2 separate regions of the Homo sapiens genome follow, and region 2 is linked to region 1. Evidence: promoter capture Hi-C in 16 types of primary human blood cells and fetal thymus (Javierre and others, 2016). All regions are on one chromosome and are shown on one strand. The core of a region is centred on a gene start or on the middle of the fragment in contact, and the rest is flanking DNA. Distances in the headings are between cores, read along the strand shown.

Evidence for each region. The method cuts DNA at HindIII sites, captures the fragments that hold promoters and counts their contacts. A CHiCAGO score of 5 or more calls a contact.
Region 2: the fragment with the promoter of QSOX2 here is called in contact with the fragment with the promoter of BRD3OS in region 1 in 2 of 17 cell types (neutrophils and monocytes); the score reaches 6.9 in neutrophils.

What each region holds. Positions count from the first base shown.
Region 1 is chr9:134,021,652-134,027,039 of GRCh38, forward strand. It overlaps BRD3OS (BRD3 opposite strand), which reads left to right and starts at 3,830. Exons shown (of 3, transcript NM_001355256.2): 1 at 3,830-3,885; 2 at 4,194-4,439; 3 at 4,557-5,388. The coding sequence starts at 5,097. The coding sequence ends at 5,351. RefSeq lists silencers at 3,264-3,393, 3,704-4,123. The HindIII fragment of the contact is 9,456 bases long and covers 1,789-5,388 here.
Region 2 is chr9:136,241,946-136,247,506 of GRCh38, forward strand. It overlaps QSOX2 (quiescin sulfhydryl oxidase 2), which reads right to left and starts at 3,867. Exons shown (of 12, transcript NM_181701.4): 1 at 3,531-3,867. The coding sequence starts at 3,858. RefSeq lists silencers at 3,395-3,804, 3,835-4,104. The HindIII fragment of the contact is 4,512 bases long and covers 1,517-5,561 here.

The DNA of each region.
Region 1 (5,388 bases), core at 2,580-5,079:
AAAAGAAGAGAAAGCTAGTTATGGTGGGTGAATGGGGTCAGTTAGCATCTGGAGCTGGATGAGCTGCAAATCGTTTTAACATTGTTTATCTTGAGGTCAGTACTTACTTAGCTGCTAGAGAAAAGGAACAACCTCGTGGCAGTGAGAATAGAGTTTATTCTTTAATTGTAGAGGTGTAGGACTTAACTTGTGCCTGGCATGGCCCTAAATCTTATTAATTAATTAATTTATTTATTTTTGGAATCAGAGTCTCACTTTGTCACCCAGACTGGAGTGCAGTTGTGCCATCTTGGCTCACTGCAACCTCCACCTCCTGGGTTCAAGTGGTTTTCCTGCCTCAGCCTCCCAAGTAGCTGGGATTACAGGCATGCGCCACTATGTCCAGCTAATTTTTGTATTTTTTGTAGAGATGGGGGTTCACCATGTTGGCCAGGCTGGTCTCGAACTCTCAGCCTCAAGTGATCTGCCCGCCTTGGACTCTCAAAGTGCTGGGATTACAGATGTGAGTCACCATGCCCAGCCACAGGTCTTATTTATAATTTGGTATGTTATCGCCATAAAGAGTCTGTTTTTCAGTCTTCTATGTTTTCAGTCTTACATATTTTAACGCAAATGCTAGTGCCTTGTCTCTAAGTCACCAAAGGGAGGAGTTATAACGACATGAGTGGGCTCTCCTATCCCATCGTGGCTGGGAACTCAGTTTTAAGTTTTTTCTGAGGTCCCCTTGGCCAAGAGGGGATCCGTTCAGTCAGTGAGGAGTTTAGGATTTTATTTTTAGTTTATATTCCCTTCTTTTGGCCAAGATTTGCCAGAGATGGCATTGATGACCAAACTTTTATTTTGTCCTATATCGTTGCTGGGGCTGTGTGCTACCTGCACTGGGTCCATCTTGTCCCTTGGTGGGATCCCTATGGCCAAGAGACTTAGAGCCAAAAGACTGAAAGACAGCTAATTAAATGTTTTAGGACAGATAGGAAAGGAGATGGGCAGGCACTCATTCACCCTTAAAAACCTTTTGTGCAGCCAGGTGCGGTGGCTTATGCCTGTAATCCTAGCACTTTGGGAGTCTGAGGCGGGTGGATCACGAGGTCAGGAGTTTGAGACCAGCCTGATCAACATAGTGAAACCCTGTCTCCACTAAAAATACAAAATGAGCCAGGCATGGTGGCACATGCCTGTAACCCTAGCTACTCGGGAGGCTGAGGCAGGAGAATCACTTGAACCTGGGAGGCGGAGGTTGCAGTGAGCTGAGATTGCACCATTGTACTCCGGTCTGGGCGACAGAGCGAGATTCCATCTCAAAAAAATCAAAATAAAACAAACAACAACAACAACAAAAAACAACCTTTTGTGCAACATAAGAGGCAAAAACCAAAATCCAAAACGTGAGGTTACAAAATTGACTTATCTCTAAGTTTTATGTATTGAGCTATCAGCTATTTAGGTATTTGTGAACCATCTTTGATTCAGAGGGTCTGAACAAATTTTATCCCTCGAAACCAGCCCTTACAATCTCATGCGTTTACCTCTTCTGCAATTGTCCCTGGGCCTAGAGGGAGGGTGTTTGATATCAAATCAGATTGGAGCCAATGGGATTTTAAATCATTTTCAGATTCTGGAGATATCAGGTAGAAAAAGAGAGGTAATCTTCATTTTTTACTTAATTGTTGTAGCTATAAAATAGCTTAAAAGGAAAAACAGCTTTTTGACTCTGGAAAACAAAACATAAGTAAATGTTTCGAACAGAAATATAAGTCCTATTTGGTTTTGACAACGACAGGAAAAGGAAGCTTACAGGTAACTAAATATTCAAATTATTTAGTTCAAGGCATAGAACAAATTATATTAGCTTAGAGGCAATTTTTTTTTTTTTTTTTTGAGATGGGGTCTCACTCTGTCACCCAAGCTGGAGTGCAATGGTGCAATCTCAGCTCACTGCAACCTCCGCCTCCTGGGTTCAAGAGATTCTCCTGCCTCAGCCTCCTGAGTAGCTGGGATTACAGGCGCCTGCCACCACACTGGGCTAATTTTTTATATTTTTGGTAGAGACAGGGTTTCATCATGTTGGCTAGGCTGGTCTCGAACTCCTGACCTCAAGTGATGTGACCGCCTAGGCCTCCCAAAGTGCTGGGATTACAGGCGTGAAAACCGCACCCAGCCAGATAGAGGTAAAAGTGTTAAATGGGTCTTTGAATACAGGCCTGTTCTTGTGTCTCTTGAAAGCAGTATAACTTCGGTTGCTGTCTTTTCCCAGGTCGGAAGACTGGGAGATCATGTAAGATTTAAACGTTTTCAAATTTGTTGAAACTGATTTATGGTCCAGCATGTGATCAGTTTTGCTAAACGTCCTGTGTAGGTACTTGTGAAGAAAGTGCGAGGCAGGCGGATCACAAGGTCAGGAGTTCGAGACCAGCCTGGCCAATATGGTGAAACCCTGTCTCTACTAAAAATACAAAAATTAGCTGGGCGTGGTTGCCGGCGCCTGTAGTCCCAGCTACTCAGGAGGCTGAGGCAGGAGAATCGCTTGAACCTGGGGGGCGGAGGTTGCAGTGAGCTGAGATCGTGCCACCACACTCCACCCTGGGTGACAGAGTGAGATTCCCTTTCAAAAAAAAAAAAAAAAAGAATGTGCGTTCCACAGCTGTGGGCTTAGTGCTCACACTAAGCATCTTCCTTGGATGTCTGTTATGCTTATTTTCTTTTTTTTTAGAGATGGGGTTTTGCTGTTTCGTCCCAGCTGAAGTGCAGTGGCATGATTATGGCTCACTGCAGCCTCGAACTCCTGGCTCAAGGGATCCTCCTGCCTCAGCCTCCCAAGTAGGTGGGACTCAGAGGTGAGCCACCACACCAGGTTCCATTATGCTAGTTTTCTTAATTGGCATTGGAGAAAACCATAAAATTAGGGGAAAAGGGTAGATACTAAAAGAGTGCTATTGGAGTATGATTGGAGGTGGAGTGAGAAAAGGAAATAGACCTTGCTTTCATGGGGCTGTTGAGGAGTCCAAATGAGCAGTATAGAGGCCTGGCTTGGTTGGATGAGATGGAGAAATTCAAGACCTATTTTTGAGATAGTAAGCCCGGACATTTAATTAATTAAAAATAATTGTATCAATTACTGAGAGTAAGAATACTAATAAAAGCAGTAACAGCAGTGGCAAAAGTAACCACACAAGCAGAAATACGAAAACCAAGATGATAAGACCATACAGTCCGGCAGTGTCTTACTAACAGGGTTGTGGGCGTCCCACTCCTTCTCTTCATCCTCCTCCAGCTCCTCCTCCACGTCTTCCTCCAGCTCCTGCTCCTCTTTCTTTTCCAGTACCTCCTCAGCCCCTTCTCCTCTGCCAGCCCCTCCTCCCACCTCCGCTCCCAGCCCCTCCTCCTTTCCCAGCCCCTCACCATCCAGCCCCTCCTCCTCCATCTCCTCCTCCTCTCTCAGCTCCTCCTCCTCCCCCAGCTCCTCCTCCTGCTCCTCCTTCTCCTCCACTCCTCCTTCTGCTCCTCCTTCTCGTTCAGCTCCTCCTCTCCCAGCCCCTCCTCCTCCTCCAGCCCCTCCTCCTCATCCAGCCCTTTCTCCTCTCCCAGCCCCTCCTCTCCCAGCTCCTCCTCCTCCTCCCTCCTCCTCCTCCAGCCCCTCCTCCTCCAGCCCCTCCTCCTCCAGCCCCTCCTCCTCCTCTTCCAGTTCCTATTCGGGGCGGGCCCAGCCCCTCCTCGCGGAGCGATCGATGGCTTGGGCTCGTCGCACACGCCTGCCCAGCCTCTGCGCTCGGCTCGCCAGGCCTGCGGCGCTGCCATGGAGACACGGCCCAGCGGCCGCCGGCCCCGCCCTGGGAGCCCCGCAGTGCGTCGCGCCGCTGCCCGCATCTCCGAGGCCCGCGACGAGCGGTGACTGGGGCGGGCGACGTGGGGGACCCGGGGATGCGGGCAGACGATAGGGGGCTGGAGGATGGGGCGACCCAGAGCGCGCGGGGTCTGGGGCGCGGGGATGGGGGCCGCGGGCCACGCGACGGGGACCCCAGGGTGCGCGCAGGTGGCGGGGACGCGCGATGGGGGCCCGGGAAGCTGAGGCTGACCTAGCGCAGGCATCCCAGGAGGGGAGGTCCCTGACGCTGCGCAGCTGGGAAGGCGTTCGGGAGTGGGTTGCGATGCTTCCCTGTTTGTTTTCTCCTGACATCGTTTTTGTTTGGGTCCAGGGGCCTCACGGGAGCTGGATGCTCGGAGCAGCAAGGCGGCCCTGGGGGCCCCTTCCGGTCCCGGGGCTGACGCCTGGCGGCGTCTCCGGGAACCCGCGCCCTTTCAAGCGCCGCTGGCTCCTGTTTCACAGATGGAGACCCTGAAGCCCCAACAAGCAGCCTCCCCAGCACCTCCCAGTGACTGAAAAAGCTGGCACTGGGCGCCCGTCTCACTCTCCACCCAGCTCCCAGGCTGCCCCACGGGACGTAAGTAGCTCGATCTAGGCCGCTGACCCCCAGAGACTTGATGCTGCGCTGCAGACTGCCGCCGCTGCCGGGGCGCTTGACTTCCCCTCTCCTGACAGCACGTTCGTTCCTTTGCAGCAGCACCTTTGGGGAGAGACGAGACCTGAACAAACGCTGGGGCTGGATCCCCAGGGTGGGTCAGAACAGCCGTTGCCCTGAAAGCTGGCCCGGACAGATGCGTGCGGGGCGTGCCACCGGAGCTCCTTCCAGCTTGCGTCTGGGGCCACCATGTCCCTTCCTCAGGGCACTGGATCCATCTCTTCAAGCTCAGTGGTCCAGGCCATGGTGGCAGAATCACCCCCCAGGGTGTGACGCCTCGTCCCTGTCAATTCCACACAGCTGCACCCGGAAGAGCTGTGGCCGGGCGCCGCTCTGACCTGTGTGCGGTCCCCTGAATGGGTCTCAGGTGTCTTCAGAATGGTGAGGCCGCCTCATTTCCTCACCACACAACCCTCCTGAGGACGTTGCCTGCAAATGGGCGGAATTCCTAATTTCTACCATTCAGTTAAACGAGGGATCCTTAAGCCCCAAAGCTGGGAAAGCTGTCCGTTAATTTAGTGCGCGTGGGCCGTCTCAGAACAGCAGGGTTCCCAGGAGTCCAGCGGGACGGGGGAGGGGATGAGTGGCCGTGTCCCCCTGGCAGAGAAGGCCTTGTCTGAAGGCTACGCCCGCCTCCGGTACAGGGACACCTCCTTGCTCATCTGGCAGCAGCAACAGCAGAAGTTGGAGTCGGTGCCACCTGGGACGTACCTGAGCAGGAGCCGAAGCATGTGGTACTCACAGTATGGAAATGAGGCCATCTTGGTCCGAGACAAAAACAAGCTCGAGGTCTCTAGGGACACAGGGCAGTCCAAGTTTTGCACAATTATGTAATTCCGATGTGAGCACCTGAACCCAGGACCACACTTTG
Region 2 (5,561 bases), core at 2,617-5,116, 2.2 Mb after region 1:
AGACTGCAGAGGCATTTCGGAGATCTCACCGGTCAGACGGGCCAAAGTGTAGCCCCAGGCCCTGGTGCCTCATCTTCCATCACAAACCCAGCAACCATCACTGCCAGGCAGATCTTCAGGAACCCAACAAGGTTTTGTTCTGCAAAGTACTTAGAAGTGACAGGCTTAAGCCAAATCTCCACAAACACTAGAATGACACTTGGTCACACCAAACAGTACAACTTTTGTTTCTTAAGCCACCTTCTTATAAGAAAAAACATTTATTTTCCCAGCCTTGAAAAAGCCAGTCAAGAGCTAAAGTTCAATCCAAATTTCTGAGGAAAACAAAGGTGCCCTGGCCTGTCCTGCTCCTTCCAGCTGGAGGCTCCTGGGAAGCAGAGCCCACACCTAACCATCCTCTCCAGCAGCCACAGGCATGAAGAACGCAGGGCGTGGCGGGCGCTGGCCAGGGGGACCAGTGGGAGAAGGCGGCTGGACACTCTAGGTAGAAGTGGGGGCCCAAGCCATGGCCTGTGTGCCCCCAGGGGATCAGCAGGATGACCTAAGTCACAGGTGATTGATCAGGGCCACAGGTGACTGATCTGAGTCAGGTCAACAGGGACATAAGAAAACATGAGAATGTTGACAACGGGAATGCCTGCATGCAGCCAGACCCCTGCACTGCCACGGGCAATGGGCGCCCTATCCCTGTGGGACAGCTCCACGCAGGGATGACAGACAGGGAGCCAGGCGCCAAGCAGACAGTTCTGAGCTGGCAGGTCTGGGCTGGGGCTGTGGAGAAGCAGGCATTTCTAACAAGGCCCTAAGTGGCCCTACTTTGAGAGTCCCAGCCTTAGAACAGCTCCGGGGACTCCTCAGTGCCAAGGGCCTTTCATCCCTTTCTACCCGGACTCTACCTCCCACAAGCCTCATGGGCACAGCTTGGCTCTCAGGACTGTAAACCAAAAATAAAATCCTGAGTCCCCTAACTGACTGAATTGAACCCCCTCTTGGCCAAGGAGACCCCAGGGCAACCTGAGGAAAGAAATTCCAGGCCCTGACGGCAAGGGAGGTCAGACACGCCTGGTTACATCACCTCCCTTTGGAGTTTAGGCAGAGCTGACCAGCGTGATGAAACAGAGATCACAGACAGACAGCACAGCCTCAGCAGCAACGACACCAAACTCCAGCCTGACTCGGGTACAGCACCACATGACAAATAGCACACCCTGCAGGAAATCAAAATATTTCACCCCCAAATACATTTATTTCCCTGACATATTTGAAATGGTCCTGCAAAGCTGTCTTTTGTGAGGGAAATTTGCATCTGTAGAGAATCTCCCTCCCTTTCTAGGTCTTTCCTGGATCTAGGAGACATTTAACGAGTCTGACAGCATTCAGGTCTGAAAAGAGACATTTACCCTCTATTCTCCCCAAGGCTGCTGCCTGTGAGGCTTCATCTACTTAACCTTGGCCTCCACAGCCCCTTTAGCTTAACTCAAGCATTTCTCTTTGCTGACTTCAAGTCTTTAGACAAAGCTTAACTCTTTCAATCAATTGCCAGTCAGAATCCACCTATGATCTGTAAACCTACCCCTTCCTATACCTTACATGTACTGATTTATGTCTCTCTGCCTATAACTTCTGTCTCCCTAAAATGTATAAAATCAAATTAACGTGACTGCCTAGAGCACACTTTCTTAGGACCTCTTGACACTGTTCCCCTGGCCATGGCCACTACACTTATTGGCTCAGAACAAACCTCTTTCAGTATTTTATAGTTTGGCTTTTTAGCCAACAGGACCCTCTGCCTGGGCTCCCTGAAGCCCTCTCCCTGCTGCCTGGTCAGGTCACCGCTGTCTTTCACTTTCAGCCATATCCTCCTCCAGTCTCAGTCTCAGGCACAAGCCTGTTCTTCCTGTCGTGACTGGGAAGACAGTCAGCCTCACTAAAGGAGGCTTACTGAGTTGAGTTCATCACACCACTGGGTATGGACGTTACTGTGTGGCTCTCAGGAGGGGCCTTCCTTCTGAGCTCCAGGGACAGTTCTCAAGGCTGCCTATGTGCTGCTTCGGTTACAGAATTTGCAATATTTGAATCTGGTACGATCTTTAGACTTCAGCGACTCAACTGAAAAAAAAAAATCAAAACCAAAACCCACAAAAAAAGTGACCAAGTCCTGCCAGGGCCACCTGCATTTTAATGAACATATCTGTTTCTGCCACTGAATAACACACAAGAACTGAAGGGTTCCCTACGTGATTGAATTACTTGTTTGTTTTCCTAAAAGCAGTGTCTAAAAACCCCACTGAACAGTTTTTCTGTCCATCTCTTCCAGTCTCTGACCTCAGTTCTGAGTCAGGTCAACAGGGACATAAGAAAACATGAGATCAAAGAGGAGGAATCCATTAGAATCAAAAGGCCCCAGCTCTCTAAGAGGAGAATGCATTTTAAAGATAACCATTTACAGTAACATACAAAAGCCCTACTTAGACTTGAAAAAAAGTTTCTTTACAAATCTGTTTGCGATGAGAAAAATACAGCAGGATTGGGTGTAAGGCATAAAAACAAAGGTGCAGGAAGAAAGAGTAGCAATTTGTTACAGATCTTGCCCACTGAAACATGTAATTTGAGGTTAGCACAACACAGGAAGTCCTGCCAAACCTCACTGGGTCGGGAGGACCTCCTACTTCAGTGATTTAAATACCATTTTAAGGGAAGGGTGTTGTGAATGCCCCCTCCCACGCCAACTCTAACCTGTAGAGCAGGCGAGTAACTTCGTGACTGGTTAACAACGTGCGACCAGATGAAAGCACTAAACAATAAAGTGCGGAACACTACCAGCAGTTTGGTGAAAGATTTCTCAAAGGCTGTGCATCTGTGATCAAGGAGCCCACCAATGAAATTCTTTGTAGAGTTAAAAAAATTGCTTTATAGGTTGTTTTGGGGTATTATAGAGAAGTCTCCAGAGTATTTGGACTTCTAAGTTGTGGGTTCACTTTGAGCACCCACTATATGGCCAGCGATCCGAACCAGAAAGTTAATGATGAAGGTTCAAAGGGAATGGGGTGGCTACGAGTGTGGAATAGGAATGAGGGATCCTCAGAGAACAGGAATTCTGGGCACTGGGGATGGGGTGTGTGGACGCTAGGAAACAGGTAGGGTAGGAGGCCTGGAAGGTCAATGAAGTTCTTGGGGCTCAAAACATAGGTATTTTGAGAGCTGGGATACGGGAGGGCTTCCCTATCCCCAAGCGTGCGGTGAGGGCTGCGGGAGAATGGTTTCATTTTGACTTCAGACAGCCCAACTCGTCAGGATCTAACGGGGATTAACTGGGAGAGACATGGGGAGCAGCTGGCTTAGTCTCCCGCCCCTGGAAAGGCCAGGGTTGGTCCGAGTCGGGTGCCTCTGTGGGGCAGGGACTGGCTCTGCGGTAAGGAAAGAAATACGGGGGAGGGGCCCCGGGACCCGCCTTCTGGGGCGGTCGCAAGGGGTCCCGGAAGGCCGCGGTCCCGGGGGTCGGGGGGTCCCCGCGCGGGGGCGCGCCTCACCTCGCACATCCCCAGCCAGGGCCCGCCAAGTGGGCGCGTAGCCGATGCAGTGGCCACACCACGACGAGTAGAACTGCACGAGCCACGCGGCCGAGCTGTTGGCGGTGGCCCCGCGCACGCTGCCGCTGTCCAGCACCCACACGGCGTCCTCGCCCGCGCGGTACAGCCGCGCCGCACCGCCCGCGCCCGGCCCCACCGCCGCCGCCGCTAGCAGCACTAGCAGCCGCGGCAGCCGTGCGGCCCGCGGCGGGGGCGAGCGCCGGGCTCTCAGCGCAGGTCCCGCTCCGATTCCCGGGCTGCGCGCCACCGCCGCCCCGGCCGCCGCCATGTTGGAAGTGCCGCCGGCGCGCTGAACTTTCACCCTGGCAACCACCGTCACGTGCGCCGGCGCGCCCGGCCCCGCCCCCGCGCGCCCAGTTCTGTTCCGCCCCGCCCCCTCACGTCTGACCCCGCCCTCTCTCCCCGCCCCCGCCCCCGCCCATGCGTGGCAGCCCCGCCCCCAAGAGTCTGATGACGCCATCTCCCCGCCCAGGCGCGGCAGGCTCCGCCCAGGCCCCGCCCCACCCCGCCGCGCGTTCCCCAAACCCCTTCCCTGAACAGGGCCAGGTGGCCACATTTAGCAAATGGAAGTGCACGACGCCAGGTTCAACGTGAATTTCAGACAAACAGTGAGTCGGTTTTTCAGCCTAGGTCTGTGCCATGCCTGAAATACAAATTTAACAAGACATTCTTAGACGTAAAAAACTATTCCGGGGTTCTTTTACTTGGCAACCCCACCTGGGGCTTCAGAGGGTCTGCAAGCCAGCCTCGACTTTTTAATATGATATTGGAACGCTTAGAAAATGCAGCAAAACATCCACTCAAAGTCAGATGTGTTGTGTGCTACCTTTTAGGATGTTCCAGTCGAATGCAGCTTCACGGTTTGGAAATGAAATCATATGACTTTTTTGCTTCATTGAACAGGATACCTGATTTTTTTTTTTGTTCCTATTCCTAATTTTTACACATGTCAAGATTTTCTCTGAACTGTGTGACCAAAACAAAACAAGGGAGTGGGCGAGCCTGGGCAACATAGCGAGAGCCCATCTCTTAAAAAAAAGAAAAAAGCCGGGCATGGTGGTGCACACCTGTAGTCCCAGCTACTTGAGGGGCTAAGGTGGAGGATGGCTTGAGCCTGGGAGCTTGAGGCTGCAGTGAGCCGTGACTCTGCCACTGCACTCCAGCCTGGATGACAGAGCGAGACCTTGTCTCAAAATAAATAGATAACTGTATTGTGGGGTTCTGTGTAAGATTTTGTTTAAAAGGTTTTGCTGCTAACAATGGTTAACCCCAGATGAGAGGATTCTCCCCAGAGGGCCCCTGGCCAAGGCGTCTGCTCCCTTTTCCTCACGTCCTGCGTCTCCCTGTTCATGTTTCCTTCCATCACCCACGTTTCCTGGCTTCTGCTCTGTGCCAAGCCCTGGAGACAAATCAAGAACAAAACCGAGCCCCCAGTGTCCCTGGCCTGCATTTGGGCAGACCCCAAACAAACCAACGCGTAAAGCAGCCACCGCGTGCTATGAAAAGCAATGAAGCCGGACACGGAAGCAGGTGCCAGCAGGGCTGCCGTACAGAGGAGGGTGGGGAGGTCTTTGAGAAGGTGACCCGAATGGAGAAGGAGGTGAGGGAGGAGGCACACATGCAAAGGCCCTGGGGCAGAAGGGTGCTGAGCACGCTGGAGGAACAGCAAGGAGCCGGACCTGGTGGGAGCGGAGCAAGCTGGGGGAAGCGTGGGAGGGAAGAAAAGCTGAGAGCCCGAGCGAGACCCAGGGGGCCTCACAACCTGGGCCGCAGACTCAGACTTTGATGCTGAATGGGGGGGTGGCCACGGAAGGATCGGTGCAAGGATGCAGCTCTGCCCTTCTAGTTGCAGAGTAGGAGGGGCAGGAGGGGAAGCAGGGGACCTGGGAGGGGCCGCCGCCTCCTTCCACAAGCTGGAGGGACTCCGGGGAGGGGTGAGAGGCAGTGCTGGTGGAGGGGTCGGCTGAGTCT